2 separate regions of the Homo sapiens genome follow, and region 1 is linked to region 2. The links are contacts of gene promoters, found by promoter capture Hi-C in blood cells and fetal thymus (Javierre and others, 2016). All regions are on one chromosome and are shown on one strand. Each heading gives the region's core, a stretch centred on a gene start or on the middle of the fragment in contact. The rest is flanking DNA. Distances are from core to core; before and after follow the strand shown. Region 1 overlaps ANKRD26 (ankyrin repeat domain containing 26). Region 2 holds the start of GAD2 (glutamate decarboxylase 2).

Region 1 (3,295 bases), core at 330-2,829, 790 kb before region 2:
ATGGAATATTATTGCCTATTGCCTGATAGCAAAAGGTATACGTTGAGATACTTTGGCTTTCCTTCTAATGGATTTGAGTTTGGCTGTGGTTGATAGCACTTTGATAGTTTTCTGGCACCATCTCAAGTGTTCCACCCTTAATCATAAGTGAATGAATGATTGGCATCCAAACACTTAACCACATATGGAAATTTATTACTTAAAGAACTCCAAGATAAATACTTCTTATGAATTAAACAAACTCTAACACTGATTAATTTGTATTTTTAAGTTTTGTCATTTTCTTACTTAGGAGTACATTCTTAGTTGCTATTGTTACAGCATTTTTCTCTCAATTTTTGTAAAATGTGTCTATTACTGGGCAATTGCACAGTGGTTTTTAAATAGTTAAAGCAAGCAAATATGTGAATTTAAAAAATGCACTTGTGCCATTACTTGAATGATTGATGTCTAAGATGGCAGTGATATCAAGAGTGTTTAGTAAGTATGATCAAACAATTATTTTCTTCCTACCCAGAATTTCATGTTAAGCTTCACAGGGTCCTCATCTCCCCTGGATCCTAGCTTTACAGTAACAAGGTCCTAGCTAGCCAATATTATGTTCATATTGTTAGCTTAGTTTTGTCTTGCTCTTCTAGAACAATAGAAAACCCATTGAAGAGGAACCTTGCAATCCAGCCTTACGATTTCACTCATAGTACGACTTCATTTCTGGGGATCTCAAGATGAATTCAACAATGACAAGTTTTATCAATTGTAGACTTGGTAGGGAAAAAAAAAATCAACTATGCTTGATCCAGTTTAAGATACTTGTCTAACTTTTGACCATTTTTGACTGGGGGAACAAATTACAAAAGCTGGTTGCAATGGTGAACACTTGTAATCCCAGCTACTTGGGAGGCTGGGGCAGGAGGATTGCTTGAGCCCAAGAGTTTAAGGTTGTAATGTGTTTTTACTGCAACTGTGAATAGCAGCCGCACTCCAGCCTGGGCAGCATAGCAAGACCCTGTCTCTTAAAAAATTACAAGAAGCATAAAACATTTGTTTGAACAAAAATAAATAAATAGCAACTAGTTTTTGTTGTGTATCATTATGAAAATATCCATTTTAATCAGTGCACGTTAGCTTAAGATTTAATGGTATTTTCATGATCTTAATGCAGAGAAAAAAAGTGTAGACTCATGTTAAATGAGACCTCAACCTTGTTTCTTTACCAGGCCTCATGTCCTAACAAATCATAGAAGACCAAGTCTAAGGTTTCTTAGACAGCACTGCAGCCAAGTGGCTTAACAAGGAACAAATCAAATGATTGTTTTAATACATAAATTATAAGATCTATCCAGCTAATTTTTTTCATCATTTTGTTAGCTTAGTTTTGTCTTATTTTTCTGACAATGAGATGATCAGGGTCTAAATGCTTCAGAGTCATGAAATTTTCCTACTGGGTACAAAAAGAAAATGAATGTCAAATACTTGTGTAGGCCGGGTGCAATGGTTCATGCCTATAATCCCAACACTTTGGGAGGCCGAAGCAGGAAGATCACCTGAGCTCAGGAGTTCAAGACCAGGCTGGGAAACATAGTGAGGCATAGTGAGATCTCATTTCTACAAAAAATTAAAAAAAATTAGCTGGGCATGGTGGTGCACGCTTGTAGTCCCAGCTTCTTGGGAGGCTGAGGCAGGAGAATCACTTGAGCTCAGGAGCTCAAGGCTACAGTGAGCTATGATCGTGCTTCTGCACTCCAGCCTGGATGACAGAGTGAGACCCTGTCTCAAAAAATCCAAAACAATAACAAAAAACCTTCTGTAACTTACTAAGCATGATGCAAATATAAAATTTTCTCATTAGTTCCTACCAGAAAACTCAGGTAACAACATTTTATAAGATGATGAAAGAATATGTAGATACGCAATGTAAGGGAAGATTTTTGAGGAAATGTTTTTCCTTAATTGATTTTTTTGGGGAGCAAGGAGGTGTTTATTTTTAGTATTTCTAGATAAGCTGAAAAATATTCCATTGGTATACATGGTTTCTTTGTGGGGCACTGGTTTGCCAAACCATGTTAGATTTAACAAAAGAGATTAAAAAGAACCATTCTGTCAGGTCAAGTGACTTTCATACATTAAAAAAATTTTTTTGAAAGAATAGAACTTTTAAAAAATGGCATGAAACTATATTACATAAAACAGATAGAAGTAGAGCTCTCTGGCTAAAGGACAGGTAGGGGCTCTGAAGCTGTGACTTCCTTATCCCTTAATCCTGCAATATCCTCTGTAGAACCTTAGATTTCTGTGGGACATAGTTTGAAAACTACTGGTTATGAAAGAATCCTTCTAATTAGCCAAAACTTGTTGGTACATTGTTCTTTTATAATTTTCTCCTATTCTTATATTTTAAAATGAAAAAGTATACATGAAGTTGCAGATGTGCTCCCTTTATTAATGTTGGACCTCAGGCTGCCTCCGCCACCTGAAGCATAACCCCCACCTGGAAATAAACAAAGTCCACAGAGAAAGGAGGAGCATTTTTATAAAACGTAGTTTATTTATTTTACTCCATAATAGCTTTCGATTTTGTATTATGCATTAAATTATTAGCGTAAGAGATTAGTAATTTATTAAGCTTTTTAATTTCCTCTAGCAGTGTTCAGTTTCTCCTAAGCTATTGCTCTATACATTTCAAAAACCATCGATGGCACCTTGTCTACCTCAATAGGACAGTTATTAATGTCACCAAGACATTTTTCTCTCCTTTTTTCTTCCATAGTCTGTATCAGGCACTGTGTTAAGTTATTTAACTGGAGACAATAATTTTAAATTTGTATTAAGGGAAATATGAGGAAAATGTGTGATTTAATGGGAAATTAGGAATAAAATGAAAGGGACTTTTTCAAAGTCATTTAATGTTTGCCAGTTTTCACTTTTAATATAGGTAAAACCATCCCAGTTTCCCACCAACCAGGACAAAACCAGACTTGTCAACACAGAAGACCCTTTTCCTAAGCTTTCAAGTGTCCCTCCCAGAGCACCTCCCTCCTGGGTTCTGGGTCTGCCCCTTTTCCCTTTGAGCCTTTATGTCTGACCTGGTGTCCTTTTCTCAAAAGTAGTTGCCCTCAGCTGTCATTTATGTGGTAAAATATTCAAGGGTTGGCCAGGCATGGTGGCTCCTGCCTGTAATCCCAGCACTTTGGGAGGCCCAGGTGGGCGGATCACGAGGTCAGGAGTTTGAGACCAGCCTGTCCAATATGGTGAAACCCCGTCTCTACTAAAAAATACAAAAATTAGCTGGGCGTGG
Region 2 (3,290 bases), core at 707-3,206:
TTTCTCAGTAAACCATCTTACATGTTTACATAAATATTTCACGTCAGAAGTGTTTGTCTCGAATGCCTTCGGGCAAACCAAAGTGGAACAGGTGCATTAGGATCTCTGGTCTGATAGGAAGGCCCGCTGTTTCTAAAGTCAGTGTGTGTGTGTGTGTGTGTGTGTGTGTGTGTGTGTGAGAGAGAGAGAGAGAGCGTATGCATGTGTGTCTGCATGTGTGTGTGCGCGCGTACATTTGGGAGACGGTGTGTAAGTGCACGGGGGTAAAACTCGGCGCGCGGGTTTCATGTGAATGGAATCGTTCTCTTGTGCAATTGCAGCTACAAATCACTCTCGTGATCTAAAGACCTAAAAAAAATGCAATTCTGAATTCTCGGGCACGGTATTTGGAAACTGAGTCCCACCCGAGGCCCCAGCGGCCTAGGGAAGCCAGCCGTCATCGATTCAGTGAGCGCACGAGCGCCTGGATCGTCGGCCACCCGCCATCCCAAGGGCCGCGCTGGGGGAAGAGCGCCACGGCCTCAGAGCCCTCTTGGAGCTCCGAGGCCAGGTTCGGGGGCTTGGACCCAGCGGGCAGGTCCCGCATTTCTCGCTTTTATCTGAAGATTCTGGCAGGTCCCGCCTCCGCTGCCACCTCGACGCCCCTGTCCGGCTCTCAGCGCCGGACCCGCACCGGCCGCGGTGGGCGGGGCAGAGAGAGGGGCAGGGGCGCCCCGGGGCTCCCCGCTGAGTCTTTACCTGTTGCATGGAGAAACGCGTAGTTGACATCCACTTTGGAGCAGCTGCAGGGCTTCTGGTCGCAGGCGCAGGCGGCCTTCCGGGCGGCGGCCCGCGGGGGTTGGCTCCCGCCGCTCTCCGCCGGCTTCTCGGCGTCTCCGTAGAGCAGGGCTGGGTAAGGACACCGAACGCGGGCCTCGTCAATCCTCCGCCGGGCCCGGCTCCCTCGCTCCCGCCTACCCGCAGCCAGGAAACCCCGACTCCGCTGACTGGGATGCGGAGGTGAGAAGACTGCTTGGACCCCGCGGGCCGACCTTGGCCGCCCCGGTCCCTGGGCACTCACCGCACAGTTTGTTTCCGATGCCGCCCGTGAACTTCTGAGCCACTTGGCACCAGGCTCGCGCTGCAAGGAAGAATAGGCAGGCAGACAGCGAGGCAGAAAGAGAACAACAGACGGACGTGTGAAATTTCGTTCTATGTGAAAATCAATCAGTCCGGGGTCCTAGGAGGGGCCGCCTTCCTCCTGGGGGCCGCTCAGGACTCGGTGAGGCCGGCAGGTGCAGAAGGCAAGCGGGAGGCTGGCGGCCCGGGCCAGCCCTCATTTCCTTTATCTGTTTCCCGAGGAGAAGCCCACACCGCTGCCCTTCCAGGTGCCAATCGGCTCAGGCAAATTCCTCTCCCTGCCTACCTTGGACGAGTTTTCCTAAACACTGAAGCTATCCATTTTTTCGCAGACTGTCTTTCTAGATAAAGAAATCTCTCACCTTTCCCATTTTTTTTTTCTATCTTCACGGTCACTCCGTCCCACCCCAGGGTCCAGACACCCGGATCTTAGCAGCGCCCCAGGACCACGGAATTCCATGTCCCCGAGACACCGCGGTCTTTGGGGGGCTCTTCCAACCTTCTGTGGAACGGGCCTGAGACTATTTGGGCGTCTTCCCAGGGTACAAGAGGCTGTAGAGGTCTTGAGCTCTTGGGCCGTCAAGGACTTAGCCCAAAAGCAGGGAGAAGCGCCCGAAGAAGTTTCCTGTTGCAGGTGGAAAAACCTCCTTCGTCTTCTCCGTAGTTCCGCAAACCCCAGACCACCGCAAAACTCGCCCGCCGCAGGCCCCCGTTCTCCTTCCTACCTGTGCCGGGATTCTCGGAATCCCCAGAGCCATCTTCCGACCCGAAAGACCAAAAGCCAGAGCCCGGAGATGCCATCGGCTTTGGAGACTGGAGCAGGTCGCCTGCGAGTGCGAGCTGCGGGCGAGCTGCCTCGGGCTTGGCCCTGCGCGCGCGTGCGTGCCCGTGTGGCGGGAGGAGGGCACCGCGCGGGGACCGGCGGGGCCGAGCGGCGAGGGCGGGTGTCACGCAGGAACAGAAAACGTGCGTGTCTGTGCGTGTGTGTATGCGAGCTGGAGACAGGGTTTAGGGACGTGGCAACCCTTTGGAAGCCGGGGAGCTTTAAAAGAGACCGGGACTACCTAAGGGTCCTCGGAGCCCGGACTCAGGAAAGCGCGGAGAGCCCCAGAGCATTTGAGGGAAAGGGAGCCCAGTGGGGATGAATGAGGGGGCGGCGGAGGAAAAAAACACGAGAGAGGGAGGGAGCTGAGTCGTGAGGATGCGAGGCAGACCATGCACGCCAGCTGGAGTCAGAGTGAGGGGGTGGGAGGCGTGCCAGCGCGTCCTCGGGCGAGCCAGAGGCGGGAAGTGCGGGCGGCCGCTGTCCCGGGTGCTGCCACAGCCGCTGCGCGCCAGCGTCAGCGAGGGGCAGACTGGGGAGACCTCGGCGAGGCGGGAAGCGTGGCCCAGAGGAGTTTTCTGTGTGCATCGATTGGGGTTTTGTTTGAGGTCTGGCTCCAGCTGAGGGGAAGGAAGCGGGGTTCCCGCGCCGTTTTCCTCCAAGCAGGTGCTGAGGTCACTGCGACCTCGAGAGCTCGCGCCCCGGGCGGGCATCAGGCGCCGTTCACGAGCCTGGGGAGGGGACGGCGGGGGAAGGGCTCCTACCCGCTGATGGGCTCATTTCAGCGCCTTGGTAGAACCTGACGCCTGCCTGCTGAACCGCGCCGTACCCGGGGGCGCACCGTTCCTGCGTAGCCAAGGGCTAGATCGCGGGACCCACCGTCCAGGCTCTGAGTGACGGCTGGGGAGAATGACTGCTGATTGAGGCAATTAAAATCCACGCTGGAGTCTACTGAGGACCTCGGGCTGGGGAAAAAAAAATAAAACGAATGGAAACTTCTTGGAAGAGAATGAGGCAGAGCGGCCAGAGTCGGCAGGATTGATGGCGGGTGGGGGATGGAATCAGGGCATTTGGTGACCTTGGCCCGCGGAGGCGTGGAAGCGCCCGCTGCTTGCGTGTAAGGGGGATCTGTGTGCGCCTGGGAGGGGAGAACAGGGTTTCCAACTAAGCAATCTCGGCTTTACAAATCCGAGTAGGAAAGAAGGCATCGCCTGCAGGGCCCTCGTTTTAAGGGGCTTCAAACCAATGCCCCCCCTCGCCCCCAGAGAATCTTCGCGGTAGCGGGTGACCCGGAAGCGCGAGATTGGTTCTCTCTGAGGCGTATTAGGAGGCGGTTTCTCTTTTTCTA

Evidence for each region. Contacts are between HindIII fragments. The CHiCAGO score rates a contact against its expected background, and 5 or more counts as called.
Region 1: a fragment that was not itself captured here is called in contact with the fragment with the promoter of GAD2 in region 2 in 1 of 17 cell types (neutrophils); the score reaches 5.2 in neutrophils.

What each region holds. Positions count from the first base shown.
Region 1 is chr10:27,008,993-27,012,287 of GRCh38, reverse strand. All of the region lies in intron 32 of ANKRD26 (ankyrin repeat domain containing 26), which reads left to right. Among named protein-coding and RNA genes, the nearest start is that of FAM238C, 69 kb to the right of the region's middle. The HindIII fragment of the contact is 2,092 bases long and covers 534-2,625 here.
Region 2 is chr10:26,215,440-26,218,729 of GRCh38, reverse strand. GAD2 (glutamate decarboxylase 2) reads right to left here and starts at 1,956. Exons shown (of 16, transcript NM_001134366.2): 1 at 1,845-1,956; 2 at 1,061-1,120; 3 at 739-888. The coding sequence starts at 1,920. RefSeq lists enhancers at 4-632, 3,242-3,290. The HindIII fragment of the contact is 6,458 bases long and covers 1-3,290 here.